7 separate regions of the Homo sapiens genome follow, and regions 1, 2, 3, 5, 6 and 7 are each linked to region 4. The links are contacts of gene promoters, found by promoter capture Hi-C in blood cells and fetal thymus (Javierre and others, 2016). All regions are on one chromosome and are shown on one strand. Each heading gives the region's core, a stretch centred on a gene start or on the middle of the fragment in contact. The rest is flanking DNA. Distances are from core to core; before and after follow the strand shown. Region 1 overlaps PTPN1 (protein tyrosine phosphatase non-receptor type 1). Region 2 has its middle 14 kb from the start of PTPN1. Region 3 overlaps PTPN1 (protein tyrosine phosphatase non-receptor type 1). Region 4 holds the start of CEBPB (CCAAT enhancer binding protein beta). Region 5 overlaps PTPN1 (protein tyrosine phosphatase non-receptor type 1). Region 6 overlaps PTPN1 (protein tyrosine phosphatase non-receptor type 1). Region 7 has its middle 47 kb from the start of PTPN1.

What was found. Contacts are between HindIII fragments. The CHiCAGO score rates a contact against its expected background, and 5 or more counts as called.
Region 1: a fragment that was not itself captured here is called in contact with the fragment with the promoter of CEBPB in region 4 in 3 of 17 cell types (naive CD4 T cells, naive CD8 T cells and monocytes); the score reaches 6.7 in naive CD4 T cells.
Region 2: a contact is called between a fragment that was not itself captured here and the fragment with the promoter of CEBPB in region 4, in 3 of 17 cell types (neutrophils, monocytes and naive CD4 T cells). The highest score is 10.7, in neutrophils.
Region 3: a contact is called between a fragment that was not itself captured here and the fragment with the promoter of CEBPB in region 4, in 2 of 17 cell types (monocytes and total CD4 T cells). The highest score is 6.3, in monocytes.
Region 5: a fragment that was not itself captured here is called in contact with the fragment with the promoter of CEBPB in region 4 in 3 of 17 cell types (monocytes, neutrophils and fetal thymus); the score reaches 8.2 in monocytes.
Region 6: a contact is called between a fragment that was not itself captured here and the fragment with the promoter of CEBPB in region 4, in 1 of 17 cell types (monocytes). The highest score is 9.3, in monocytes.
Region 7: a fragment that was not itself captured here is called in contact with the fragment with the promoter of CEBPB in region 4 in 17 of 17 cell types (neutrophils, monocytes, total CD8 T cells and 14 more); the score reaches 31.7 in neutrophils.

What each region holds. Positions count from the first base shown.
Region 1 is chr20:50,567,001-50,571,250 of GRCh38, reverse strand. PTPN1 (protein tyrosine phosphatase non-receptor type 1) reads right to left here. Exons shown (of 10, transcript NM_002827.4): 4 at 2,773-2,871. Among named protein-coding and RNA genes, the nearest start is that of MIR645, 17 kb to the left of the region's middle. The HindIII fragment of the contact is 9,665 bases long and covers 1-4,250 here.
Region 2 is chr20:50,493,970-50,498,264 of GRCh38, reverse strand. No RefSeq gene overlaps it. Among named protein-coding and RNA genes, the nearest start is that of PTPN1, 14 kb to the left of the region's middle. The HindIII fragment of the contact is 8,989 bases long and covers 1-4,295 here.
Region 3 is chr20:50,548,997-50,553,230 of GRCh38, reverse strand. The region is part of intron 1 of PTPN1 (protein tyrosine phosphatase non-receptor type 1); the gene reads right to left. Among named protein-coding and RNA genes, the nearest start is that of MIR645, 35 kb to the left of the region's middle. The HindIII fragment of the contact is 850 bases long and covers 1,730-2,579 here.
Region 4 is chr20:50,188,115-50,192,469 of GRCh38, reverse strand. CEBPB (CCAAT enhancer binding protein beta) reads right to left here and starts at 1,640. Exons shown (of 1, transcript NM_005194.4): 1 at 1-1,640. The coding sequence starts at 1,436. The coding sequence ends at 399. It overlaps CEBPB-AS1 (CEBPB antisense RNA 1), which reads left to right and starts at 401. Exons shown (of 7, transcript NR_125739.1): 1 at 401-806; 2 at 1,048-1,202; 3 at 2,185-2,472; 4 at 2,909-3,014; 5 at 3,843-3,927. RefSeq lists silencers at 298-407, 828-1,267, 1,408-1,617, 1,444-1,738, 1,698-2,107. The HindIII fragment of the contact is 16,423 bases long and covers 1-4,355 here.
Region 5 is chr20:50,513,719-50,517,811 of GRCh38, reverse strand. The region is part of intron 1 of PTPN1 (protein tyrosine phosphatase non-receptor type 1); the gene reads right to left. Among named protein-coding and RNA genes, the nearest start is that of PTPN1, 5.4 kb to the right of the region's middle. The HindIII fragment of the contact is 809 bases long and covers 1,011-1,819 here.
Region 6 is chr20:50,531,900-50,536,031 of GRCh38, reverse strand. The region is part of intron 1 of PTPN1 (protein tyrosine phosphatase non-receptor type 1); the gene reads right to left. Among named protein-coding and RNA genes, the nearest start is that of PTPN1, 24 kb to the right of the region's middle. The HindIII fragment of the contact is 608 bases long and covers 1,574-2,181 here.
Region 7 is chr20:50,460,762-50,465,138 of GRCh38, reverse strand. No RefSeq gene overlaps it. Among named protein-coding and RNA genes, the nearest start is that of PTPN1, 47 kb to the left of the region's middle. RefSeq lists a silencer at 4,117-4,236. The HindIII fragment of the contact is 1,375 bases long and covers 1,061-2,435 here.

The DNA.
Region 1 (4,250 bases), core at 402-2,901, 380 kb before region 4:
TCTCGATGCCACCACAGTAACCCAAAGGGAAAGGTTGTCACAGTGGATCTGTGGGCCATTTGTGGTCAGTCTTGAGTGGGAGACAATGAAGCACAGGGCCTGGTGAGGCTGGAACACATAACTACAGCACTGGACACTGCTCAAATACATAACTACAGCGCTGGACACCACTCCTTGCTGTAATGTGACAACAATTGCTAAAGCAAACCTTGTGCTCACAGCAAAGAGGTTTTGCCAAACACTTAGCAACAAAGAAATAAATAAGAAGCAAATGCTACTATATCTGGTAATTTCTGAATAAATGTCTTGATTTAAAATTCCCAACCCTCAATACCATCTAGAGCGGTGGTTCTCAACCGGGGGCAATTTGGCCTACCAGGGGACGTTGGACAAAGTCTGGAGTCTAGACAGAAACACATCTGACTGCCACATCTGGGGAGGGGGTGCTACTGGCATCTGGTGGATAGAGGCCAGAGATGCTGCTAAACTTCCTACAGCGCCCAGCACAGCCACTCCCTGCCCGGATCCCTAGCAGACAATGATCCAGCCCAAGTGTCAGTAGTGCTGAGGGTCAGAAGCCTGCAGATGGAGCTATGCTGAAGGCTTCCACAGGCCACCAGGCTTCCCCTTCCCTCTAAGACAGTGTGTGCTGTGAGCACCTGATGCTTTGTTTCTTTACTCAAAATTGCTGACTAGTGGTGAAGGGTGGGGGTTTGCTTCACATTTGTAACTTCACATTTTACTAATCAAGCTACTAAGGAGGGAAGAAAAAATTTAAAAACCACCTTTCACTGAAAAAGTTTTTTTCTAAGACAAGATACATTATATCATCAACAGAACACTTAGGCAAGCTCCCTGTCTGTTATTGTTGGGCAAATAAACACTTTCATTTTTTAAAAAGTAGGCAAGGGTAAAAAACCCCCAAAAAACCCCAACCCCAAAACAAAACAAACCAAACCCCTATGATTTTAAACACGCGCTGTCCTAAGAGGAAGACTTTCTGCGAGTAACTAAAGCCGTTTCTTTGTGTGTGGTGGAGGCAGAGGCTTCGTGGTTAATGCTTCAAGTTTTCACTGCTGAAGTTTCCTTTGATGTGTTCCTTCTTAACACTTGGATTTTTTACATTCTAGGGCCATGACTGTGCTTTTTTTGGAAAGGTGGCCTCTCTGGAGCCCTCACCTTCTTCTGTGGCCGGAGGCAACCAGGACAGCTGTGAGAGCCGTGTCCTAGCTGAGCCTGGACCTGGCAAGGCCCAAGGACACCCAGTTCCCTGCTCCTGGGCCACACGCTCCTGCTGGTCTCCACGATCCTCAGCCCATCTCCTCCTGGACCCCGCAGCAGGGTTGGCAGTGTTGGGGAGCAGCGAGGGCAGGGAGGCCGAGGAGCCTGTGGCCCTGCTGAACACTGGCCTGCGCCTGCACAGGCAGATGGTCTAAATGGGATGGTCTACACAGGATGGTCTACACAGACAATCTACACAGGACGGTCTACAGAGACAGTCTACACAGGACAGTCTATACACGACGGTCTACAGAGACAGTCTACACAGGACAGTCTATACACGACGGTCTACAGAGACAGTCTACACAGACAATCTACACAGGACAGTCTACACAGGACAGTCTACACAGACAATCTACACAGGACAGTTTACATGGACAGTCTACACAGGACAGTCTACACAGACAATCTACACAGGACAGTCTACACAGACAATCTACACAGGACAGTCTACACAGGACAGTCTACACAGGAGGCCGGCTGCCCAGAAATCGGCTATTCTCAGCTATTCCAACAGAGTGAGGAGGGCAGGGGAGAATGCAGGCAGTTGGGGAGCTGGGGGCAGCCGTCCAGGGGTGCCTGCAAGTGGGATGAACGTGGGCACTGGGACTCCTCGGCCCAGAGAACATGGTAAGAAACTAAAAACAGAAAACTTTGTCCTGGCTAAAGTTCCAAGAGTGGTGAGAGGTCTGTGTCCAGGGGCCTAGGGCCAGACCTGCAGGGTTCCGTAAGCCACACCATGTATTATCCTGTGAGGCAAAGGGAACCGCACAAGGGTTTTCAGCTGGGAAGAACCGTGGTGAGACTTGGATTTGAGAAAGCTCATTCTGAAAGCATGGTACAAAATGAACTATGGTAAGTCAAGAAGGAGAGGTGGCTAGACCCAGATGCAAGAGGAGTGGTGGCCTGCACAAATGGACACCGTGCAGCCACACGCTAGCCCGAGGGGTGTTTGAAAAGTTGCAGGAACTTAGAATGACACACATCCTGAAGTCAATGCTCACTCCGAAGAGGTGTGGCAGGGCAAGAGTCTAGGTACTGAATGGAGGCAAATCTCATCTAGTCAGCCGCTCCCACAGCTCCGCAGAGGTAGCCACACTCTCACCAGCCAAAAAATCAGACACCATGAAGATGCACTAAGAACTTGCTTTTCAAGATAAAAGCAGGTCTCCATAACTCCACACACAACTCCACACTGTGATGAGAGCCGCACAGGCAGCACAGGTGGGCGGAGCGCCACACGCACCACACAGGAGAAGGCGGGGGCGAAGAGGTCCGTGCAGTTCTTCCGCCTCCTCCCTTTTATTCACTTCATTAACTGGTTGACAACCAACATGCATTTATATGCTGCTGTTTTAATTTTTTTAAATAAAAATACTACGTAAAGGAAATACAAAGGCAAGAAAAATAATTTAAAAATCTGGACGAAAATGGTAACTATATGGAGTGGTATGCATGATCACATACACAGCAAATGAAGCCGAGACTTACCGAACCTTTCTCCATCACTCTGTTGAGCATGACGACACCCCTGCTTTTCTGCTCCCACACCATCTCCCAAAAGTGACCGCATGTGTTAGGCAAAGGGCCCTGCAAAGACACAATAACACAACATGTGACATCTGAAACATAACATGCTACAGCGTGTGCTCACCTTCTGCAGTCAGCTAACGACAGCGCCCTCAGTCCCCACAGCTTAGGCAGAGTGGTGGCTGAGGCTGGGACAGGGACCCACCTCTCTCTGCCTGGTGGTCAGTAACTGCAGCTCCATTTTCTACCAGGCAGCGAAAGGCGATTTCCGCATCTCAGTTCAGGGCTGGGCCAACCAAGGACAGAAAAATGCCGATTCTGCTTTCTGGCTCAGGCAGGCCCGCTAAGGGCCTCCACTGAGATTCGTCCCCAAGGCCCTTGGGCTATGGGACAAAACTCCTTGGTGCAGATGAGAGGCAGTGTGGGGGCGTGGCCAACCACAACACTTCTCTTGGTTCCAATCACATCATCTTGTGACCTTGCGCAAGTCACTTCATCGCTCCCTGCCCCAGTTTCCCCATCGCTTACTTGACTAATAATAGTCCCTATTCATAAAACTGTGAAAATGAAGTATGTTCATTTCTATAAAGTACTTAGCACAGTCCCTAGAATACAGCAACATCCAATGAAACATCAGCAACTATTCCTACCATCAGCAATGAGGACCCTGACGGCAGACAGCCTCCATCCTTGGCCCAACAAACTTAGGAGATGTAGAAACATAAATGGTCAATGAGGTGGCCCAAGGGGAACAGAGTCACTGGGGCATGAGGGTGTCTGCTGAGCAGCTGGCCCATTTCAATCCAGCTCACCTGGCAATGGGCACAGATGTTTACTGGACACAGGGTATGAATGCCTTGAGTTTGTCTCAATTATTAGCAGTGGCTGGAAGAGACATTGCCTATCACCTCCACATCAGAACCTGTCATGTCCTTGGCCAGCATCACTTCTTCTCATGGTTTCCATTCTCATCTATTTTCACCTAACCTCTTTATTTTTTTTTAATTTTTTTTGAGGCAGAGTCTCGCTCCATCACCCAGGCTGGAGTACAGGGGCGCAATCCTGGCTCACTGCAACCTCTGCCTCCTGGGCTCAAGCGATTCTCCTGTCTCAGCCTCCCAAGTAGCTGGGATTACAGGTGCACACTACCACACCCAGCTAATTTCTGTATTTTTAGTAGAGACGGGGTTTCACCATGTTGGCCAGGCTGGCCTCGAACTCCTGACCCAAGTGATCCACCTGCTTCAGCCTCCCAAAGTGCTGGGATTACAGGCGTAAGCCACCGTCCCCGGCCCATAAGCTCCTTATTCTTTAAATCTTCTCCCTTTAAGTCCCATCACACTTGGCTCAACCACTAGCCCTCAGTGTCCTCTCACTTTCTTTCCTGAGCTCATCTTGAACTTACTACCTGAACAAGACAAGTCAGCACTCCCTGTGCT
Region 2 (4,295 bases), core at 1,117-3,616, 310 kb before region 4:
TTCTGTCTTGTTAGGGTCATGGGGTTCCGATGTTAGATATTAAAGAGGAAGCTGGAAATCTGGGGGATGGCTGGGGTTATAAACAGGGCCCAGTGAATGTTAATTCCCTTCTGAGGCAGACACTGTTGGTTGCCTATCTATTCATCTTTCTCTTCCCCCTTCTTCTTGGCTGACAGTGCCAAGAAGAAAAAACTGGGAGGCCCCTTCAAAGCCTCCTTTGCATCAGGGCATGGGTATGGGACTCAATCCTGGCCAATGGCAGTATTGCAAAATCTGCCCAAGAGCTTCTGGGAAAGATTTTCCCTTCTTGTAAAGGAGACATATGGGGCCAGGCATGGTGGCTTACGCCTGTAATCCTAGCATTTTGGGAGGCCGAGGCGGGCGGATCACTTGAGGTCAGGAGTTCAAGACTAGCCTGGCCAACATGGTGAAACCCTGTCTCTACTAAAAATAGAAAAAATTAGCTGGGCGTGGTGGCGGGCACCTGTAGTCCCAGATACTCGGGAGGCTGAGGCAGGAGAATGGCATGAACCTGGGAGGCAGAGCTTGCAGTGAGCCGTGACTGCACCACTGCACTCCAGCCTGGGGGGACAGAGCGATGCTCCGTCTCAAAAAAAAAAAAAAAAAAAAAAAAAAGAGAGACATATGGGAGGAATTATTTTTTTTTAAAACCAGGCTAAGATAGAGGAGCAAAAATATAAAAAGCACTTAGGTCCTTGACATCACTGAGTTATCGAATTGTCCCTGGGACTGCCTAGCTCTGGACTTATTTGAAGACATCATAAACATTTTTACTACTTAAGCCACTTTGGGTTGGTTTTTTTGTTACCTGCAGCTGAGAGCATGCTAACTGATACAGGGTCTTTGTCTTCTGTCTCTACCTTCCTTTAGCCCTATGGGTCTCATGTTTAGACACATTCCTTCCCCAGAGCACCAGTTGTTTGGAAGTCAAGATCTTTTGGAAACTACCTGTATTAACTTATCATCACTGCCTGCTAAATAAGATTCTCTCTGGTCACTCCTTACTTCTTCATTTCAGGAGCGAAATTGGTATCTGGTGGGGTGAAAGCAGAACCTCGGCCTTCATGCAACTCTGTGTTTGGGTATGGAATGATCCTCTCATATTGGTCTTAGCAATCTGCACGTGTGTCTCTCTCAGCCCTCACAGTCGTGGATCCTGTAGTATTCATCTTGCTATGTCCCCAGGGCCTAGCCCAGGACCTGGGCGAGAAGAGGTGCTCCCTGAATGCTTGTCAAATAAATATATGAAGAATTAATCATCACATCCCATTTTATCACCTCCCTAAACAGAGTCATTTTCCCTCCCCACTGCCTTCCTGCATTCCTCTAGGGCAAGATGGTTCTTGCAGAGAGAGAGAGAGAGAGAGTGAGAATGAAGAAGAGGTTAACCCAATTGTCATTTCCAAAGCAGCTGTTAATCCCTGCCTTCTTAAATTACCCTTATTGTACCCACTTTCAGCCTCAATGTTGGGTCAGCACTGAGGCAACTCTGACTTTGGTCTCCTTTAAAAAAAAGGAAAAAGAAGGAAGGAGGGAGAGAAGGAAACTCTGCCTGTATTCAAACCATTTCAAGAAACATGGTTGAACTAAAGAGAGAAGCAATTTAAAGTGGGTGTTTTCACACGCAGAGCTGGAAGTTCTAGCATTGGAGGTAGGACATTTTTGTTGTTCTTATTTCTTTTTCTTATCACAAAAGGAATACTCATTTAATGAAGAAAACTTGAAAAGTGCATATAAAAGAGACACAACTTACTTTTTTTTTTTTTTTTTAAACGGAGTTTCACTCTTGCTACCCAGGCTGGAGTGCAATGGAGCGATCTTGGCTCACCGCAACCTCTGCCTCCCAGGTTCAAGCAATTCTCCTGCCTCAGCCTCCCTAGCAGCTGGGATTACAGGCACGCACCACCATGCCTGGATAATTTTGTATTTTTAGTAGAGACAGGGTTTCTCCATGTTGGTCAGGCTGGTCTCGAAATCCCGACCTCAGATGATCTGCCTGTCTCGGCCTCGCAAAGTGCTGGGATTACAGGCGTGAGCCACTGCGCCTGGCCCACAACTTACTTTTAACTCTTACTACCTGTGCTGGTCACTGCTCACGTGTTGTGTGTGTGTTTTTTGTTTTGTTTTGTTTTTGTTTGAGACGGAGTCTCACTCTGTCCCTCAGGCTGGAGTGCAGTGGTGCGATCTCGGCTCACTGCAAGCTCTGCCTCACGGGTTCACGCCATTCTCCTGCCTCAGCCTACCGAGTAGCTGGGACTACAGGCGCCCGCCACCATGCCCGGCTAATTTTTTTTTTGTATTTTTAGTAGAGACGGGGTTTCGCCGTGTTAGCCAGGACGGTCTCGATCTCCTGACCTTGTGATCTGCCCACCTCGGCCTCCCAAAGTGCTGGGATGACAGGCGTGAGCCACCGCGCCTGGCCACTGCTCACATTTTGGTAAGCACATTTTCACAAGTTCTTAGGTCTCTCTGTCACTTCATCTCGATCTTCATCCTCCCTTTATTCTAACCCCTCCCTTTCACTCTGTCTTTCTGAGGTCTCTGTCTCTCTCTTTCTCTTTTTATCAATTTTTTTTTTTTTTTTTTTTTTGGTGACAGAGTCTCACTCTGTTGCCCAGGCTGGAGTGGCACAATCTTGGCTCTTTGCAAGCTCTGTTTCCTGGGATCAAGTGATTCTCCTGCCTCAGCCTCCCAAGTAGCTGGGATTACAGGCATGTGCCACTACGCCCAGCTAACTTTTTGTATTTTTAGTAGAGACAGGGTTCACCATGTTGGCCAGGCTGGTCTTGAACTCCTGACCTCAGGTGATTCGCCCGCTCAGCCTCCCAAAGTGCGAAAGAGATAAATACCCCAGCTCCTTGCTTCTCAGGTATGGCAATGTGGAGGCATGGCCCTTACATGGGTGGGTTTGAGCCCCACTGGCCCACATGCTCATTCATGTCCCTTCCCAGACATTATTTGAAGACATTATTTGAAGACATCAGGAGCATTTTTACTGTTTAAGCCACTTTGGATTGGCTTGCTACTTGCAGTTGAGAGCATGCTAACTGGTACATGGTCTTTGTCTTCTGTCTCTATCTTCCTGTAGCCCTATGGGTCTGAAGTTCAGCCATATTCCTTCCCCAGAGCCCTAGTTGCCTTGGAAGTCAAGATCTTTTAGAAGCCACCTGCATCAACTTTTCACCACTGTCCTAAATCAGAAACTTCGTGGTCACTTCCCCACTCCTCACCTGCTGCCTCCAAGGATCTCCTCAGGAATAAATTACTTGCATTTAAATCCTTGTCTCAGAGTTGGCTTCTGGAGGAACTCAGATGAAGATGGCAGACTTATCACTTTTCCTTTTGTCTAACTAAAAGGCTTCAAATAGAAATCAATTATTCAACTGATTATGAATCCAAAAATTTCTGGCATATTTGAAAGAGCAGATCATCCCGACTTTTAGTCCTCAAGATATCAAAAATATTGCATCTCCATCTAGCACCTCCCCCCCCATTACACACCTGCTTTGTGCTAGGCACTTTACATGTGCAACAGGATGATGTTAGGGGTGCTCTGAGTCTCTTGGCCTAAGTTCAAAGGTCATTCAGCAGTTGGGGTCAGCCACCTTCCTTCACGGCTCGCTGTGGAGCCATTTCAGCAGAATGGCAGCCCATCCTTATGCCCATTCTACCGTGGGCGTCAAGGAGAAGGGGAAAGAGAGCACGTCTTGCTTCTCCTGCTCCCCCTACCCATTGTCCCAGCTCCAAGCCACTAGAATCATGAGTCTGGCTTGAACTGGGTGACATGGGGCCAGGGGATCTAAAAGAACTTTGAATCAGATCTGAGAATGAAGTTTTTTCCAAGGAAATTTATATTGAACTATAAAACACATACAGAAAAGTATATGTGTGTACATGCACACAGATATATCATAAGTGCACGGCTCAGTGAATTTCCCCAGACTAAACATGCTCACATAACCTGCACCCAGATCAAGATACAGAACTCTCCCAGCCCCTCAGAAAGCTACCTAGTAACCCTCCTAGTCACTACCCTTTGCCAAGGGTGACCACTATCCTGCTAACACCCTGGATTGCTTTTGCCTGTTTTTGAACTTCACATAAATGGAATCATGCCGTGCATGCTTTTTGGTGTCTGTCTTCGTTTGTTCGACATCATGACCATGAGACTGGGTCTCGTTGTGCTTCACTGGTTGAGACTGACATTCTAATTGGAGGAGATTTGGGTTTTAAGACCTGAAATAGACAGCTTTGGTAACCAAAGAGTCAGTCAG
Region 3 (4,234 bases), core at 905-3,404, 360 kb before region 4:
TAGTTTTCGTATTAGTCACCAGACAAAAATTAGATATCAGAGTGTCAACATTTATTCAACAAATATAAAGGGCCTACTGTGTGTCAGGCACTGTTTTGAATATTGGAGCTACAGCAAAGAACCAAACATAAAAATTCCTTCCTTTATAGAATTTACCTTCTATGAGAGACAGAGAGAGACAGAGAGACAAAATATATGTCAGCTGATAAGTACTAAATTGAAAAATCAAGTAGAGGAAATAAAAGGAGAAGGTTGGGCAGATTATTTTTTTATAATAAGTAGGATGGTCACAAAAGACCTTCCAGTAAAAGTGACACTGGAACAGAGATCTGATGAAGGTGAGGGAGTGAGCCATGGGAATGTTTGGAGGGGAATATTCCAGGTAGGAGGACGCACGGCATGTCTGAGGAAGAGAAGAAAGCCATTGTGGTGGGAGTGAGGGGCAAAGTGGTGGAGATGAAGCTGCAGGTCAGGGAGAGCATGCTGGATCCCAGAACAGGTATATTAGCACTATACCTGGCTAGTTAAAAAAAAAAAAAAAATTTTTTTTTTCCTGTTTGTAGAGATGAGGTCTCATTATATTACCCAGTTTGAGGCTGGTCTCAAACTCCTGGGCTCAAATAATTCTCCAGTCTCAGCCTCCCATAGTGCTGAGATTACAGGCATGAGCCACTGCACCTGGCTGAGGATTTCTGATCACAGCAGTAAGTGGATCCCTTCTGGCTGCTACGCGCAGATGGGATTGCAGGGATCAATGGTGTAAGGAAGGATACAGTCAGGAAACTAAGGTAACAATGCAGCAAAGGATGCTGTGGCTGAAACCACAGTGACAGTAACAGAAGAGGTGAGAAGGGGTCAGTTTCTGGATAATTTATTAGAAATCAGTTTCTGGCGAATCCCTCATCTTTCTCTACTTTAGAATGGTATATGGAAAACACACACATACTCTGAGTACAAGTCTTTATATTTCATTTTGTAAGATAAAATGCCAGGCTTAGAGTCTTAAAATTGAGGGGTGATAGGACCTACGCAATTAAAGGTAACTATAACATTAATGGTTTGGAAGAAAGTAAGTAGACTACCGTACCGTAACAGCAAAACGAGATTTCTGTATTCTACAACTGTATCACAGGGGAGCTACGTTTCCAACAGCTATAGAAAAAGCAGATTCATGACTAATGAACACATTTAACTAGCCTTCCACTGCAAGCAAAAAATGTCCCTAGAAGATCTTTTATTATGCTAACCAAAGATTAAATAACTACTTCTAATCTACTGAATGTGTAAAATTTCCACAGAGAAAACAAAATAAAATAAAAGCCTTTAAAACCGATTAAGATGACTGCTGGGTAAACTGATGAGCCAAACCAAAAGGGAATAATAAACTTGCCATGAAACAGATTCCCAGAAGAGTCCCCTGAACAAAAACACTAAAGATGTCAGGAGTCATTCAGTGTGTGCCTCAGCATTTCAGGGCTGGATCACACTAAATTAGAAATTTTACCAATGGGAAATAGTATCAACAGGTAACAAACAGGTTCTTTACGGATCTCTCCTTCCCCCAGTCCACACCTCAGTGGTTTTTTAAGAGCCTCCTTTCTCTTAGTGTAGATTTCAGAAATGTGATAGAATAAAACGCCACACATCATAGATGTCAAATGTGTACGGCTCTCCCAGAGTGCACGCCTGATCATGTGCTCCTGAAGCAGGCTTGGGTGTGCCCAAAGCTTACAGGTAAATGGTTTCCATTTCACTGTATCATTTTACATAGGCATCAGGCACACAAAGTGATCTGAATCATTTCTGTGGTAAACCATTGTCATGAGAGAAAAAAGCAAGTCCTTCCAAAGTTATGATTTAGCTAGGCTAGGAAGATTCACAAGCACTTGATCAAGTTTAAACAAAGCATCTGCTGAGCTGGAGATTTTAAAAGGGGCAAGGAGGGGCAGAAACCTTCTTCACCTGAATAGTTTTTATAGCTCTTCCTCATTTCCCATCCTTCCCCACTCATTTAAGAAGGTAACAGATGATCTCCCAATGAACACAAAGGGGTAACATGCTTACAAAACTCTGGTAACAGAATGAATTAGAGCCTGGAGTTAATTAATTTTTATATTTATTCAGGAAAGCTCATTATCCATTATTCAGACACCTCCCAAACTCAATTAGGCAAAAAGTCAAACTTGGGTGAAAAGCTGGCAATATTTGATTAGAGATTTCTATTTCTCCTGAAAACACACAGGCATAAAAGCCAGTTTATCCTTGCGGAAATATTTCCATGTTTATATTAAGCACTTCATCAAGTGAAACATCACAATCTGGGTTTAACACCCTTCTCCTCGGTCCACAACTGGGTGAATGTCTCTTACGGGCTCCATGGTAAAATGCATTACTCATTTTAAAGCTATCTGCTAAGTGAAGAAGTAGAGGCAGCAACCCATTAGCAGCCAGGAGTCTGAGAAGAAGTGCTTTGGACTCTCATCTTAGTGTCCCCTCCTAACACAGGCCCAGGCCCAGGGTAGGCACTCAACATAATTTTGTTAACTGAATCAATGGATACTTCAAAGGTTCCCAAAGCTTGAAGTGTCCTTAACAATATACCAACATTCTTTATAGAACAGAAGTGCTCCTGAAAGGGAATGTGTATAAGCAAATATCTGATCCAATCCTATTTTCTCAATTACTTGTTACAAAATGGAAATTACTGAAATCACATTTATTTTATTTATTTGCAGTTGACCCACACAGCCTTCTGACCAAACAGTGTCAAAATAGTTACTAAAACATGGATTCAAAGCAGAAAGAGTAATTTTTGAAAGTGATCTCTGTTTTAAAAGTCTGAAGGAATAAAAAATTCCAAGGGTACCTTTTACTCACTGGAACTTCAGGGAACTACAAAGTCCCTTAGCACCCATCACATCTTCTAAGATCTCCCGGAACCTCCATTCTACAAATGGTTATCTAATTTGATTGTTCGGGTTGTTACCTGGTTCTTCAGGGAAGCTACTGGCTTTCAGAAATGTACAGACAGAGCTAGATTGAAGGGAAATGCAGAAATATAGTAAAGGCAATGATTTAAAATGCAGTAAGTGAACACACAGTGTACATTTCCTGGAACTCTTGCAGTAGTCGCTGAATAGGGAGATATATATAGAAGGGGGGGTGGGGTAACTAGCATAAAATTTTAGAAACCAGATCTTCAAAGTAATGCATGTTGAACAAATTTTGTTAATCACAAATCTCATTATAAATGAGAAAATTTCTATGTAACAAAGTATACTCCGAGGAATATACAAATCATCAGAGGTTCAATGTCTTCCAGGTCAAAAGCAATGCTATATATGAAAGTTAATGAAACGATATAATTTACTACAAAAACCTTAGGAAAATATTTTTATTATATTTATGTGTACATTCATATAAGCAATATGAAATAAATCATATACTTAATATGAAATGCTAAGATAAACTACACTGTTTAATAATAAAGAAAAAGCTTAAAATTAAGCTAATCAGTACCAAGTCTGTTTTGGTTTAAATTTTAAAATGACTATGTACTGAATAAGAACACATACTAAAAAGCAAACCAGAATCTTTTGGTTTGGTGATAGTTGAATGAAAGACAGGGGTTGAGGGGAGGAAGGGGCAAAACTGGTCAGCATTGAAAAGGCAGCAGGATACCAAGTAACTGTCCCTGCCACAGCTGGAGGAAGCGTTGGGTCCGCTTGTACAGTGGTCTGGGGCAAGGTTAATAGATAATGGAGCTACAAGTCACTAACAGAACAATTATGTGCACTTGGAAAACTACGTGGAAAAAAAACAATCAACTGCTTTACAAACTCCCCACAAATCAAGGGATAAGGGCAGGAATGAGGGCATGAAAAATGCTTCGTGAAACTGGCATGGAGACCTTCTGGTGGAGAGGGTGGGGCTGCTTTCACACTCTGATGTACACCCACTGCTCCAAATATAAAACAATGGTCAATTAAATTTAGAGAAAACCATAAAGGCACAGCTAGGCTCAAAAACAGCATGAGAATAAAAACAAAACAAAAGGCTCCCAACTCAAAATGACCTAGAAGCAAGGTATCAAACACAGAAGACAACTAGTTAGTTCTACAAATGATAACCAACAAATCAACTAGAACAAAAATCCATTCCATATGCAATTTATTGTATAGCTTGTTGGGGACTTTAAAAATAAACATACTTGGGCCAAGCGTGGTGGCTCATG
Region 4 (4,355 bases), core at 391-2,890:
GGCTGACAGTTACACGTGGGTTGCGTCAGTCCCGTGTACACACGCGTTCAGCCATGTTTAAACCGATTGCATCAACTTCGAAACCGGCCCGCCCGCCGGCGCCTGGAGAGGGGCAGAGGGAGAAGCAGAGAGTTTATCATTCATCTGTACACATAGACGTTTCTTCTTTAAATAACACCACGGGCGGGAGCCCCATCTGCATGTGCGGTTGGTTTGGACAAAAATATAGATATATATATATAATAAAATATTAAAATTACCGACGGGCTCCCCGCGCTGCCAAGTGCCCCAGTGCCAAAGTTTTGCCGGCGCCGCCGGGGGCGGGGGCGAGGGCGCGGGCGCGGGCGCTCCCCGGAGTCTCAGCCCCGGCCGGCAGGGGGACGCGCGCGGGGGCCGCGCTAGCAGTGGCCGGAGGAGGCGAGCAGGGGCTCGGGCAGCTGCTTGAACAAGTTCCGCAGGGTGCTGAGCTCGCGCGACAGCTGCTCCACCTTCTTCTGCAGCCGCTCGTTCTCGGCCGTGAGCTCCAGGACCTTGTGCTGCGTCTCCAGGTTGCGCATCTTGGCCTTGTCGCGGCTCTTGCGCACGGCGATGTTGTTGCGCTCGCGCCGGATCTTGTACTCGTCGCTGTGCTTGTCCACGGTCTTCTTGGCCTTGCTCTTGACCTGCGAGGGCGCCGGCGCGGCCCCCGCGTAGCAGGCGGTCGGGGGCGCCTTGGCGTCAGCGGGGCTCGGCGTGCCGGGCGGGCTGGACGAGGAGGACGTGGAGAGGCTCCCGCTGCTGCCGCTCGGCACCGCCTGGTAGCCGAGGTAAGCGCGCAGCGCGTACGGGAAGCCCGCCGCCATGCCTGCGCCGCCGCCCGGCGCCCCGGCCTCCTCCTTCCGCTTGCAGTCCGCGGGCTCGAAGCCCGGCTCCGCCTTGAGCTCGGCGGGCGGCGGCGGCGGCGGGGGCGGTGGGTGCAGGGGCGCGAAGCAGCCGGGGTGCAGCGCGCCCTTGGCGGCCCCCAGGCGCCCCAGGCTCACGTAGCCGTACTCGGCCGGCTTCTTGCAGTTCTTGCCCCCGTAGTCGTCGGAGAAGAGGTCGGAGAGGAAGTCGTGGTGCTGCCCGGAGGAGGCGGGCGCGGGGGCGGGCGCGGGCGGAGCCGCCTCGAAGGTGTCCGTGGCCGTGGCGGGCGCCGGGGCCTGCGGCGCGCCCAGCGGCTCCAGGTACGGGCTGAAGTCGATGGCGCGCTCGTGGTCGCCGATGCTGCCCAGCTCGCCGGCGGGGGGGCGCGGCCCGGGTCTGGCCGCGGGGGGCGCCGCGGGGGCCGCCTTGCCGCCGTACGCAGCAGCCAAGCAGTCCGCCTCGTAGTAGAAGTTGGCCACTTCCATGGATTTAAAGGCAGGCGGCGGCGGCGGCAGGGGGAGACATGCTGGGTCCCAGGCCACCAGGCGTTGCATGAACGCGGGTGCCCGGGGAGGGGGCCTGGGGCTGCCCGCTCCGGCCGGCCCGCAGGTGGCGCGGCCTCCCTGCTCTGAGCTGTCGCCGCTGCGTCGCTGCTGCTGCTGCCGCCGCTGCCGGGGTGGCCGCTATTAGTGAGGGGGCTGGTGGCTGGACCCTCGGGTGGGTCCCCTTCCCAGTCCCGTGCGCGGCTCTGACTCGCTAAAGTTTCTCCTGAGCCCGGTTATTTATAAGGGCGGCCCGTAGCAACCGCTGCGTCACGCCGGCCCCTCCCGCCGCGCCGCCGGGACGCGAAGGACACGGCCGCGGCCGCCCGAGACCCCCGGGAGGACGGCGGCAGGGCGCAGCGGAGGGACCGGGCACCCGGAGCGCGTTTTCGGGGGGCCCCCGGGACGCAGGGGCGGCCTCACGCCCCCTGCCCACCCCCGCCCGGCCGCCCCGGGATTGGGAGCGAGAGGGGGCGGTGCGACCCCGCCCCCGGACCGCCCCTCTGGGCTGGAGGCTGTCCTGGAAGGCGGGGGAATCGGAGGAGGGGGCGACCTGATCGCCTTCCCCCCGAGACGCGGCCCCGGCCCGCCCCCTGCTGGAGGAGGCGGAGGTTTCAGGAGGGCCGAGCAGAGCCCCGACGGCCGACCAGGGTCGGCTCCCCGGGCCGAACCCTGGAGACCCCAGCCCGCAGCTCTAGCTCCAGGAGAAGCGACCCATCTCCGTGGCCCTTCCTCCCGTAAACTCCCACCTCCTCCCCAGGTCCCCGGCTTTAGAAAGAAGACTTGACGCCTGTGACGACTCCCCTCTTAAGCCACAGACAATATGAGGACCCCGGGGGTCGGCGCGACCGGGCAGGATCGCGCCCCGCTTGGGGCTGGACCCTGGTCCACGGAGCCCCGCCCCTAGCCCCGCCCACCACACCTGCCGCCTGCTCGAGGCTTGGACACGCCCGGGTCTTCTCTTGCCCCGCGCTGCGCCACCCGACCTGGGCCCTGGGATGGGGCAGGGGCGGGGGGTGCTCGGCCCTGCCACACTGTGTGACCTTGGGTGAGTCACTTCACTTCTCCCAGCTGCAATCCATGAAGGGTGTCGCTACTGTCAGTGGTGGTGGCATTGTTCCCACCAGACTCCCAAACCTAAGGCTTACGTTGTGGGCTGCACATCAGAGAGAACGGGACCCCCACGGATTGTGCCAGTGGAGGCCCAGAGAGAGCATGGCGTGGCATACCAAGGTCACATGGCCGCATGTCCCCCATTCATCCCAAATGAAATGCCCTCATCTGAGCCCTAAGACCTATTGCCAGTCCCAGAGGCCAAAAACTTCTGTTTCTGAAGTTGCTAGGGAGGGACTTAAGCGAGGCCTCACGGGAGGGGGTGGTATGCAGGAAAGAGAAGGAAAGAGAAAGATAAGTTTTTACCAAGTCCCTGCCCTGTGCTTACGGTGGGCCTGCACCCCGAGGTTCAACTTTTTTCACCCCACCAGGAAGATGCTTTTGCTGCTGCCATTTCACAGACGGGAAAGCGACAACGGCCCGCCTGGACTTGAACACAGGCCCAAGGCCTTCTGACCACTTGCCCGCCTCTGCTGGGTAGGCTCAGGTTAGAGGGCCCTTTGCCCTCCCGGACCCATTCCTAGGCCATTGGGGCAGCTCCCTGGGCCCACCTCTCTGCCACTCCTAGCCCAGGCCACCTAGGCAGGAGCTCCCAGCCTGCCCGGGGCTGATCCCCAGCCCACTGACCCCAGCCCTGGCCCCAGCGGGCAGGCGGGCATTGCTCAACCTTTGGTGTTATCTGCTGAGCTGGGGTGACCTCCGCCCCCAAGAGCTGGAGAAATGACATCTCTGGGCACCCTTGGTGGGTAGGAGGCAGGGAGGGAGGGGATAAAACACTGGCCCAGCCTGCTGGCTTTCTGGGTCTTCCCAGCAGCCTCTGGGTTGGGGAGGGATCAAGGCCCAGAGGGGTGCGGCAGCTTCCCTAGGGCCACCCGGCCAGCCCTTCCTCACTGCAAAATGGGACACTCAGGGCTGAGCTAGAGGCCACGGCTTCTGAGAGGCCCTCCCTGTCCCACCTGCTAGTGAATTTCCTTCCCTATCGCCAGCCACCATTATCCTAGCTGTCTACCTCAGTCTCCCTGCAGGCTGCCACTTGGGGAGGGCTGGCCCACGAGGGACTCCTGAGCACAGCACGCTCAACATTTACCAGTGAAGGAATGCATTTGCTGTTCCCTGTGCACCAAGAACACTGTCACCCCACCTCTGCCCAAGGCAGCTCCTCAGGTCTCAGCCCAAAAGCTGCCTCCTCCGGGAAACCCTCCCTGACCTTCCCATGGGAAGTCTAGGCCCTCAGTCACTCCTCTCACACCCCTGCTTCATTTCCGTCACCATTCTCATTATAATCAGAATTATCTTGCCTGCCAGTCTTGCTGTCTGTCCCCACGGCCTTCACTACTGTGTCCCTGGTGCCTAGAACAGAGCCTGGTACATAGAAGGTGCTCGATGAATGGTGAGTGAATAAATGGAGGAGGCTGAGAAGAAGGAGAGGTTCCTCGTTAGCTGGGCTGTGTGACCTTAGGCAAAATGGCTCCCCTCTCTGAACCAAAGCACTCGCCCACGTTCCCTTTCTGGATTCTGAAGAGATGCAGGGAGATATGGGGGAACTGAAGCTAATTGGAGGATTTGCTGTGTGTTCTTAGGCCAAACTTCCACCTTCTCTGAACCACATTCCAAGCTCTTTGCATGTATTAACTCATTTAATCCTACTGATAATTTGTAGGAGGCAGGTCTTTTTTCTTCTTCTTTTTTCATATTTTTCAATGTTTTGTAGAGATGGATATGTCTCACTCTGTTGCTCAGGCTTTTCTCGAACGCCTGGCCTCAAGTGGCCCTCTTGCCTCAGCCTCCCAAAGTGCTGAGATTACAGGTGTGAGCCGC
Region 5 (4,093 bases), core at 166-2,665, 330 kb before region 4:
CCTCAAGAAGGATTTAGAATTTCCCAGCACTAGATTCAGAGTAGTAAAGAATACGTTTATTTCCCAGAGAAAATGCAGACCTTAAGTGTCCCTTTGCCATGTTTACTCTGAGTCCATATTACAGAGCTGACTTCAGAGCACTAATTCTATCTAATTACCATAGGGTATCCATAAAACCTTACTGCCTTAGTAAAACCATAAGCACTCAGTAAATCGAACGATGTCATACGTTTTTCTCTTAAAAAAAGGGCTGGGCCGGGCACAGTGGCTCACACCTGTAATCCCAACACTTTGGGAGCCTGAGGCAGACAGATGGCTTAAGCCCAGGAGTTCAAGACCAGCCTGGGCAACACAGCAAAATCCCATCTCTACTCCAAAAAAATACAAAAATTAGCTGGGCGTGATGGCACATGCCTGTAGTCTCAGCTACTTGGGAGCCTGAGGTGGGAGGATCACTTGAGCCCAGGAGGTGGAGGTTGCAGTGAGCCAAGATTGTGCCACTGCACTCCAGCCTGGACGACACAGCAAGACCCCATCTCAAAAAAAATATTAAAAAAATAAACTTTAAAAGGACTGAAAATCATTTATAAGTACTTGGTATTATTTTATTTGTAGTAGTGTGACTTGTACCAAAGCCCAGAGATCAATAGATTTGATGGCTACAGTTTTCTTTGGCTGTTTCAGGGCAGGAGGGAATCTTCCATGTGAAATGGTCTTATTTTCAGTTTTCATACAATCAAAATTTACAAGCTGTCAGCAAGATACTCATGATTATGTCAAGCTGCTTTGAAAAAGGAGAGGGCAGCAGCTATTAAACTCTAAAGACCATTTCTACACAAAGTAAAGCATTATTTCTAAAATGCTGGAGACTTAGGTACTTTCTTCTCAAATATGGCAGATGTGTAAACTATCATATTATTCAAATGAAACTTAGACCAGATGTAGGTTTCTTCCTAAAATTACAACATAAAGGGCAACTATTCTTTGCATACCTAGTTAGGGTTGAAGCTTTCGTAAATTCTCAAGAATCAGTTCCTCTATCTTTTACAGGAAAAGCCACCCAATTGCTACTTGAGAGAAAAACTGCAAAAGCATAGCGTACGTGTCAGGGCTACTCATTTTCCACATTACCAAGTCAAATGAACTCTATTTATCAAAAACATTTCATGCCCCTCGGGAAAAAACACCCCATTCTTTTGAGTTGTTAACTATACTCACAAAGCTCCTATAAACTTTTGAGCCTAATAGTACCCAACCACACCTTACAAAACTGAGTAACTGCTGCAGTTTTTACAAGGATTATTCAGGAACATTAAATTGTATTTGTGAGTACATTAAGGATTTTTATTACTTGACCTGAACTTAATGATCAGTTAGTCCAGGATCATTTTTACAAGGGAGAAACCAAAACCCAAAGAAAGTAAGGGACTCACTCAGCACTGTTAGTATGACAGCTGAGACTGCAACTATACCCAGACACAGGGGACACTAGAAAAAGCAAAACATGAAACTACTCTCTTGCCCCTAAGGGTGGTCTGATCAAAGGCCAAAGAATGTCATTACCATTTATAGTTTGAAAAAAAAAATCAAAGACTTGGTAACAGTCGTTATTTTATGGAGAACTATATTTTATATCCCAAAATCAAAAAGTATTTTATGAACCAACCACATGCAAAGGCCCGCTAGGCTTGTGAGAACCAGTCAGGAGGGATGAGGGAAGAGGAATTCAACAATTCTTAGAGAGACAAACATATTACCTCCAAGTTGCCTGTAAAGTTCACCGTAGGCCAAGCACAAATTTATTGTTATATTTAAAGCTTCTGTGAAACAAATCAGTGGTATCAGCTTCTACTGGCTAAGAATGCCAGCCTTTCTTCCAAAGCCACTGCAGCAGGCAATACTAAATTACCTCATTAGGCCATGACTCAAAATGTGGTGGGGGCCTTCTCCCAGAGTGACCTCTACTATTGGTACTAATGTGGGCTAATCTATTTGTTTCCATCATTGCCCCCCTAGAGTGGGAGCCAGGAACATGTTTTGTACATCTTTATACCATCAGGCTAGCAAAGTACTGACCATCAATTCAATCCCAACTCTTGTTAGGTACCTACTCTGTGCCAGGAGCAGAGGACTTCAAGATGAATGAGAAAGATACAACAGGTGGCCTCAGGAAGCTTGGGCTCCATTGGAGATAGACCTGGGATATAAAGTAGCAGCTACAGCTGGGCACAGTGTCTCATACCTATAATCCCAGCACTCTGGGAGGCCAAGGCAGGAGGATCACTTGAGCCCAGGAGTTTGAGACCAGCCTGGGCAATATAGTGAGACCTTGACTTTATAAAAATTTAAAAAAAAAATGTTTGTAAAGACGCAGCTACAATGACAGCAGGGCTTTAGAAGAGATATGTGCCAGCTTGTATGAAAACACACAGGTGACGGAACAAAACTCTGGTGCAAGGAAGCACACATTCGAGCTGGAAGATGCAAGCTAGATTGAACGGGAGAGGCATCCTCAACAAAGTGCTCAGCAATGGTATAGAGGAATGAAGGGCGAGGATGAGTTTGGAGAACGCTGCCCTTTCTTGTCTGGCTAGAATGGAAGCCACATAGGAGGGAAGGACTGGAAGCTGGCTGCCATGCTAAAGAGGAGTTTGGACTTTACAAGTGTTATGAAAGAATCAGAAGTAGTTGCAGAGGAGTGAGAGACTCAGATCTGGTTTTAGAACAATGAATTACTCTAGTGATGATGGGACCATATTAACGGGTAACCGGCTTCACTCATTTCTGCAGTGTGAAACTAGAAACCATTGCAGGCTCATAAGCAACATCTGAGAACCTAGACTACTAGTGTGGTGGAAAGGATGCCATAGTGACCAACCAGTGAAATGTGGCAGAGGGAATCACCAACTACTCCAAAGTCCCCAGCCCTCCTGGATACTCAAAATGTGAACATGGAATGGCTGGTGCCAAACTACATCATCTGGGAACAATGACCCAGCTAGAATTCCAATTTTCCTGAATATGGGCAGCATAAAGTAACATGCCCAGCCGATTTGCCAGTATTAGTTGTTACCAGAAACAAATCAGCATAAACACTGTAGGGAGGAATGCCAAATTGTGCAAAATATATATAGGCTCAGGCAGGCCTCAGAAAAAGTACCTGCTCACGCCTGCAATCCCAACTTCAGGAGGCCAAGGTGGGAGGATCGCTTGAAGCCAGGAGTTCAAGACCAACCTGGGCAACACAGCAAAACCCCATTTCTATTTAAAAGAAAGAAAGAAAGAAAAAGCAGTGCTAGGAACAGAAATTGCCAAAAGGATTCTGTAATCTACAAGATCACAAGACAGTTTTCTTTAACAAAGAGAAAAGGGAAAGAATCACACAACAAAAGGCCGTTATTTCAGTAGCTAAGTCAAAAAACCTCCACAGGAAATTTCTTATTCATTTCCACTGTGAAATTCAGTACACATTCAATTACATTATTCAATACCAGGTATTTTAATAGGTTTTGAGGAGCTATTCAAGATAAAATGCAAAATGGAGGAGAAGTAACGGCAGATAACTTGCAGCTAAGAAACAGCGGCATTACCATTATCCCCCAGCTGACTTTTTAGAACCACTGGTTGGTTTACTTACTTCCAAAAACACCAAAGTATTCCTATAAATATGCCAGTGATGTCAAATAACAATAGCAAAAAGTTCTTTCCTTCACTATTTCTACTTGTGCTCCCAGTTAATCTAATATCAGTCCAGACAATTACAAAGGCATTTACACCATTTCCAAAGTACTGATCAGACACCTAAATTTAGTTCACTCAAACCAGGGCTAAACAAGAACATTTAGATCTAATGGGTCACTCAAGATGACTAGAACTTCCCAGTCTCTCCATGTCATTTCCGTTAGTCTTTTTTTTTTTAAGTGAAGTGAGTCATAGTGTATAGATCTTTCTCCTTTGCATAAAATAGTTTTTTTTCCTCTGAAGAAAATAGTATTTAAATAAACATTATTGGCAAATTTTAATATTCATCTTTTTGGAATATAACAACATAAGCTGTATATCAGTAAGGAATTTTAGTGAACTATTGTTACAA
Region 6 (4,132 bases), core at 628-3,127, 340 kb before region 4:
AATTGCCAGCATCTAAGCCTTACACATTTTAATGCCTAGATTTTAACCTCTTTTCTCTTTTCAACTGATACCTCCCTTTCCCCAGAGGATATCAAGGTGTGGTTTGATACTGGCAATGTAGTATTCAAGGAATTTCTTTCTCTCTATTTGGGGGTGGGGGACGGGGACCAGTACATATGGTTTAATTAAGGAAGGCTAAATGTATATACGACACAAGACCACAGGGTGACTGAACATTAGGTACTGAGGATACAAAGATGTGAAAGGCAATCCCCATGTTCCTATAGGGTTCACATTCTAGCTAAAAAGAAAGTAATGTATAAGCAACCAAATAAAAATATTAATTCATATAAAATGTCTAAGCATTAAAAAGGAAAAGCATGTTGCAAAATCCTATTTTGCCTGTCAGAAGCTAAACACTGTTCTTTCTAGCAGCTTGCTTTCTGTAACCAAATCCTAACTTTCCCCTAAGCAGATGGAGTCCTAAGGCGAATTAGGGCAAAGTTAACGTGGTCACGGAGGCAACAGAGAAAAGAGTATTCATAATAAAATATTTCCCATACTACAAAAAAGAGGGGATTCAATAGAAAGGACAGCTCAGTGTAGGAAGAGGGAGGCACGTGCTCCGCTGAGGCAGGGGCTGTGAATAGAATGGTGGGTGGCTCCGCAGGCAGAAGACACAGCATCAGTAAAGACAGAATGTGGAGCATGCGCTGCAGGTGTACGGGGACCTGGCCAGGAGATCAAGGGAGTGCCTTTATCCAGGCATGCCTTCAGCACCTGTGTTAGGAATCTGGAGGTAACACCCTCATCAATGGGGAATGGAAGTTTTCAAGTAGGACAGTGATACATAACATGTCCTCCCATGAAAGATACAGCAGAAAGGAAGGACCTGAACCAGCTGAAGGCGACTTTGAAGACCACAGATGAGAAGGGCCTGAACTAAGGCTTGGGAAGGAAGTGAAGGAAAGAGTTTCAGACATACATCCCAAGAATAAAATTGGGCCTGTAATTCCAGCACTTTGGGAGGCCAATGCAGGAGGACCGCCTGAAGGCAGGAGTTCCGCCTGAAGGCAGGAGTTCAAGGCCAGCCTGAGCAACAGTGAGACTCTGTCTCTATAAAAAATAAAAATAAAAAGTTAGCTGGGCATGGTAGCAAGAGCCTGTAGCCCCAGCTACTCCAGAGGCTGACGTGGGAGGATCATTTGAGCCCAGGAATTTGAGGTTACAGTAAGCTATGATTGCACCACTGCACTCCAGCCTGGGTGACAAAGCAAGACTGCATCTCTTTAAAAAAAAAAGGATAAGGATTAAGTTGGAGGACTTGGCAGTCAACTGGATGTCAGAGTAAATTAGAGTTGAAGATTACTTTAGGTTTTGAGTTAGAGTAACTAAGGAATAGATACAAATATTAACTTATAAACATGCCACTGACTTTATAATTACTCAATGTATTTCTCAATACAGCAAAAGAAAAAAAAATTACAGTAAAAACAAAAATCAAGCTTACAAGCAGATAAAGCAGTCCTCTACGTTACAAAATACACCTTCCAAACAAAAGCAGCAGAAAGCTTACAGAATACATTAGAAAACATATAAAATCTTATGGTTACTGACTTCTAATATATTTTAAAATAATGCAGCATATTTTCACGGTAAAAAAATGGCGTAAGTGCTTGAGTGATTTTCTGGCAAAAATAATTAAATGTGTTTCAAGGAACTGCTGGTAAGTCAGAGCAAGAAAATCTAAAGTCTCATTTGGATTAAATTTGCTAAAAGCAGAAAGTGCTATTTAATATGACAGCTTCGGCCGGGTGCAGTGGCTAACACCTGTAATCCCAACACTTTGGGAGGCTGAGGTGGGCAGATCTTGAGGTCAGGAGTTCGAAACCAGACTGACCAACATGGTGAAACCCTGTCTCTAATACAAAAATCAGTCTGGCATGGTGGCGCATGCCTGTAATTCCCAGCTACTCAGGAGGCTGAGGCAGGAGAATCGCTTGAACTCGGGAGGCGGAGGTTGCAGTGAGCCGAGATCGCGCCATTGCACTTTAGCCTGGGCAAGAGAGAAAGACTCCATCTCAAAAACAAAAATAAAAAATAAGACAGCTTCTATAGCCAGACAATCTGCTCCTCTTCTGTGCTCATAACTATTAAGGAGAAAAAAAAATCACGGAAGCTTCCATCATTCTCTGCCAGAAGGCACTTGTGGAACAATCTGGAGTTCTAGCGAGCAGCCCTGTTCCACCTCCAGCCTCACCTGACCTATCTTCTTGGTTACAGTGATGCCCGACTGAACCTTTCGGAAGTGGTACATCAAATCTTCCTTTCTGGGGGGGGGCAAGGGTGTCCCTTTCTGCTGAGAAGTGAAACAGCAGCCACCAAGTCAGGGACAAAAAGCCTCATGTGAACAAGCAAGGGGCCTCCAGCTCTCGACGAGCCAGCTGAAAAGAGCGGGCTTCTACATGGAAATCCCTTAGTCTGCATCTTCACTGGCTAGCAATTGAAAGCTCTTGCATTTCAGCAGTGTTTGGCTGAGGACAGAAATGGGGTACAGGCTGAGTGCATCCAGGCTGGGGGCGGGGGGCAGGGGGCAGTGGGTAATGTGATGTCTCCCAGAGATGAGAGCTCCCAAGACAAGTTGGAAGCCCTCTGTACAGTTATGTACTGCCATGAAAAGGTCTTATCTGAAAACTAATCTTAAATAAGAAATATAGTCAAAGGAGGCAATGTAAACTCTAGAGGCTGTTATTTTCTGCAACATGATATACAATGGAGAATTAGATGGAAATGCGTGTATGGTTTACAAGATTAGTCATCTGGGATTCTACAACCTCTCATAGCAAAATTAGTATGTAATAACTCTGCCACAACATTTAGATTTAGAAATTCGCTAGAACACCTCAAAAAAACTATATATTTATTTCAAAATCAGGAGAGTCTGATAGGATATTCAGTTGTAGACCAGAGGCAAAAACCCTGGTCAAAAGCAGAAAAAAAAAAAAAGTGATATTAGAGGAACAAAACAGGGCAATACCTGCAGACCCCAGGAGAAAACAAAAGGGGATAATGAAGACAGCCAGGCCCAAAAAGTGTTCCTGGAAGCTACTGATCTCCAACCCAGCAATTCCAGCCTAATCCTATTTCTCAGGGCTCTAATCTATGCCCTGCATACCTGGACCCAGTCTGTACTCCAAAATTCATGGGAATGAAACTTAATTGGAAATGATAAAACCAATTCCAGTGCCAGGATTGCAGGAAAAGGGATCTATGAACACACACCCACCCACACATAGACAGACACACACACACACCCCATCATCCACATGGAGCCCAGAATGTTTTTTATTCATACAATCATTATTATGTATAATATTAAATACCATACATACAAATCATTAACATAGTTCTATGGGGGAATTACATATTAATTGGAATACTGCAGGTATATTGCAGATTATATAGGTTCTACGGACTCATTTGGGATTTAACCACCATTCACAACACGGATTCTACAGGACAATACAATCAGAGCTCCAGAGAACCAACTTTCCAACTTTTCAAGCATGACACATTTGTGCGTTAAGGACTGTCTGTACTTTCATGCTTGATTACCATTTTGACTCTATGTCAGCCAAAAAAGTCCATCTGAGCAACATTCGCTGAACCGACCCAAAGAAGATTTAAGGGGACACTCTGTAAATAATAAACTGTGAACCTCACAAGCTAGGTACTCCATGACATGTAAGACTAGCCATGGCTTTTACCCAAAGCCTCTCGATTTAAAACAGATTATATGAGGATATTTAAAAAACAAACTCATGGACACAAAGTTTTGCCACAAAAACCTGCTGTTCTATTTTGCAGGCCATTGTAGTTAGTTTTTCAGCTGTTTGTTAACATCTCTATCATCCATCCTCTTCAACTGGCATTGGTAGGTTACAGATCTCCCCTTAAATACAGAGGTAGAAAGTACAACTACAGACAGATTCCATACCAGAAGACGCAGTTTATTACTAGTCTGCAGCCAATCCCAGGTCACAAGGCGCACATGTGGAGAACCACAGGGCTACCATGGTTACCATGCGCGTAGCCAACACCACATGCCCTGCAGCCTTATAGGGAAGTAGCC
Region 7 (4,377 bases), core at 499-2,998, 270 kb before region 4:
GGATAAATACTTTGACAATAATACAATCTACCACATCTACTGTAAAGGGAAAACCAGCACCACTTGCTCTCAATAGAAGGTGACCACAAAAAGTAAATATTATGAAAACATGTAACTTTATTAAATTCTAGCCAAATAATTTTGCCTTCTGAAGGCACTAAGTCTGAGGCCCACTCTCAAACAGAAAGTTCGGAAGGGAGGCAGGTAAGTGTTAGAAAGGCGTTAATGTCATGTTCCTATCAAACTGAGACTGCCGCCTAGATGCCATCAGAATGATTGACAGAGAATGAAATGTTATTTGATACTGGGGTGCTGTGCCCACCAAGATCTCCCCACGAATCCCACTGGTATTTGTTCTATACTTTGGAAGACCCAGCTTCAGAATCGCTCTAGGGGAGTAGAGAAGGAAACTCAGTGTCTGAGGGAGGGATGATAATGACAGCCACCTGTTAGGGGTGCCGCTATGTTGCACAGTTTCATGAATGGGGCCCCTGAAGTTGTGCAACATGGCGGTCCTGGAGAGAATCTCTGCGGGTTACCTCATTTAATTCCCACCTCCGCTCTGCCAGGTAGGCAGGATTACCTCCATTTCGCAGCTGAAAAAACTCAGATTCAGGGAAGTTCAGTGCCTGGCTCAGGACCGCAGCTGGAGGGGTCGGGGAGAGGCTCTAACCCTCCGGCTTGAAGGTGTAGTTTCAGACTTGGCCACTTGGTGTCACTCTCTCCAAACTGTCGGAAGAACCTCTGAGCTGGCCGGTTTGTGGGGGACTCCGGGCCCAGCTAGTTGCACACTGATCCCCAGTCCGGCAAAGCGGCCCCTCCTGTCCTCCCTCCGCCCTGTCACCCTTGCGGGGTGCAGAATTTCTGCCTGTTCCCTGTTTGAACTGGGTCTCTGAGTACGCCTGAGCCAAGTACTTCACAGGCATGATCTCACTCGAGCCTGCCAGCAGCAATGTGGTCTCAGACTACAGATGAGGAAACTGAGGCCAACGGCGTAGGAGCAACTTGCCCAGCTAGTAAGTGGCAGTCAGAGTTTGAACTCAGGTCTGAGTTAGAAGCTTGGCGTTTTGATGCCCAGAAAGTGCATGGTAGGACAGTTGTATTAATTCTCGATTTTTCATAGAATATATTTCCAACCCACTCCTCAGTCTCTGTAATGTCCTTGGCAATGAAAATAATCTGCCTGTTTAGAGAAGTGTATGTGTTTTTGGTCTTTTCTTTTTTTCATGTAGAAGTTAGTTTTCCCCTGACTACCAAGAGAACACTGAGGTGTTTACTTACTTAATTTTTAAAAAAATTATCTGAATATACCTTGATAATTATTTATTTTATTTTATTTTATTTTATTTTAAGACGGAGTCTCGCTCTGTTGCCCAGGCTGGAGTGCAGTGGTGTGATCTGGGCTCACTGTAACCTCTGCCTCCCAGGTTCAAGTGATTCTCCTGCCTCAGCCTTCTGAGTAGCTGGGACTACAGGTGAGCACCACCACACCCAGCTAATTTTTTTTTTTTTTTGTATTTTTAGTAAAGACGCGGTTTCACTATGTTGCCCAGGCTGGTCTCAAACTCCTGGGCTCAAATGATCCTCCTGCCTCGGCCTCCTAGAGTGCTAGGATTTACAGGCATGGGCCACCACACCCGGCTGGTAATTATTTTTTTAAATTAGAAAATCTAAGTAAAAAGAACAAAATATAGCCAGAAGTGGTGGTGCATGCCTGTGGTCCCAGCTACTTGGGAGGCTGAAGCTGGAGGATCACTTGAGCCTAGAAGATCAAGGCTGCAGGGTGCTATGATTATGCCACTGTACTCTAGCCTAGGTGACAAAGTGAGACCCTGTCTCTGTATTTTTTAAAAAGAACAGACCGGGCACAGTGGCTCACACCTGTAATCCTAGCACTTTGGGAAGCTGAAACAGAGGGATCGTTTGAGCCCAGGAGTTCAAAACCAGCTTGGGCAACTTAGTGAGACTTCGTCTTTACAAAAAAAAATTTAATTAAAAATAAAAAATCAGCCAGGCATGGTGGCAAGTGCCTATAGTCCCAGCCACTCAGGAGGCTAAGCTGGGAGGATCACTTAAGCCCAGGAGGCAGAGGTTTCAATGAGTGGTGATCGCATCACTGCACTCCAGCCTGGGTGATAGAGCAAGATCTTGTCTCAAAATAAATAATTGATTAGAGAAATAATAAAAAAAGAACAAAATAAAAGTCGCTTCTAATTCACATCAGCCACCCAGAGATAAGTGCTATTGACACGTTGGAGCATATCCTTCAAGGCATTTTTCTCTCTGTCATCTATCAATGCATTAAAAAGTTCCATTTTTAAAAACTAACAAGGGATTGTATTCATATGCAAAAATTCAAAAGATACCAAAAGATTTACAGTGGGTCTTCTCCCTCTAATCCTTAACCCCCATCCCCAGCTTTAAAACTCCAAGCTTCCCTCCCCAGAATCCATTCTGGTTATCATTTCTTGGGGATCATTACAGAGACATCCAGAACACAGATAAGCAAATATGTGCGTGGATTCCTGTACTCATTTCTCTAAATAGAAGCACACCACACACCCTGTTCTGCACTGGGATTTTGTTTTTTTCAACTTAGCAATGTACCTTGGCAGATCTTTCCAGATCAGCACTAGGAGAGCATTCTTTGCACATTCCATTGTCTGAATATAATAATTTATCTAACAAGTTTTCTGGTGATAGTCACGGAGGTATTTCCAGGGTTTTTCTGCAACAAACAATGCTGCAATTAGTATCCCTTTCACAGAAGTCTTTCCATGTATTCAGAGCTATTTCTGATGGATACATTCTTAGCAACTGAATCGCCCAGTCATAGGGCAGGTGCGTTTAAACATTTTGACGCTGGTTGTCTAAATGCTCTCTAAGGTTGTACCTACCAATCGTCATTTGCACCGGCAACCTCCGTGAGCTCTGGTTTCCCCACGTCCTAGCCAAGGCCAAGTATGATTGGACTTCTTGATCTTGGCCTTGCCGATAGGGGAAAAAGGTGTTCACCATAGTTCTAATCTACATATTCATTGTTTATATGTTAGATTGGACATTTAAAAAATACGTTCAAAGACTGTTTATATTTCTTTTCTGGTGGCAAAGCATTCAAATTGTTAGTCTATTTTTCTCTTGGATAATTGTCTTTTTGTTGATCTGCTAGGGATTTTTATATACTAAGAAAATGAGGTATTTGTTTCTCATACATGTTATGAAAGTACATATTTTTAAAATATAGATATATCAGGCCGGGTGCAGTGGCTCACACCTGTAATCCAAGTACTTTAGGAGGCCAAGGTTGGAGGATCACTTGAGTCCAGGAGTTTGAAACCAGTCTGGGCAACATGGTAAAACCCTGTCTCTACTAAATATGATGGCAGGTGCCTGTAGTCCCAACTACTTGGAAGGTTGAGGTGGGAGGATTGCTTGAGCTTAGGAGGTGGAGGCTGCAGTGAGTCGTGTTCACTCCAGGCTGGTTAACAACCAAGATTCTCTCTCTCTCTCTGCGCGCGCGCGCGCACACACACACACACACACACACACACACACACACACACACACACACAGATAGAGTGTTTGTATACAATGTTTCTGAGGCCTGTGGTCATTTGATAATATATTGTGCATCCTTTCCCATATCTGTATTTCTTTGCAGCAAAATTATTTGTTGATAGTCAGTGAAAAAAATCACTCTGAGTACACTGGAAATTCATCAAACACAAGTGGCTATGAATTGCTATGAACACAGCAATAACAAGTATCCGAGAGGAGGCTTGTGAAGCATCTCGTATGTTTCATCTGTTTATGCACTTAATTTAATCCTAAGCATCTCGTATGTTTCATCTGTTTATGCACTTAATTTAATCCTAAGCATCTCGTATGTTTCATCTGTTTATGCACTTAATTTAATCCTCCCAACGAAACTGTGACATAAATAACATCATCCCCATTCCAGATGAGGAAACTGAGGCCCAGGAGAGTCATGGGATGTGTCCAAGGCCTCCCAGATGGTCAGTGGAAGATCTGAGATTCAAACCTATGTCAATTTGTCTTTGAAACATTGGCTACCGCCTTCCATGACCTTAAATTCCCACATTCCCAACTAGTCTGGATTAAACACCCGGAAGGTACGTCCTCATCCTCCCCTCCCACCACCCTGGGCTGGGAAGAGTCATGTAGTTTAGGGCTGGGCCACCAGGAGGCGCTAGGGACAGACACATTTCTTGCCTGTTGTATGGGGCTGGGAGCAGGCTGGGGCCAGGCACCCTGGGACGGGGCACTACTTGGGGCCTGATGATCCTGAGGGCTGAGGTGGCTCAGGCCAGAGGGAATGGCTCCTGCCACGTCTAGAGGGAATCACCTCTGGCAGCC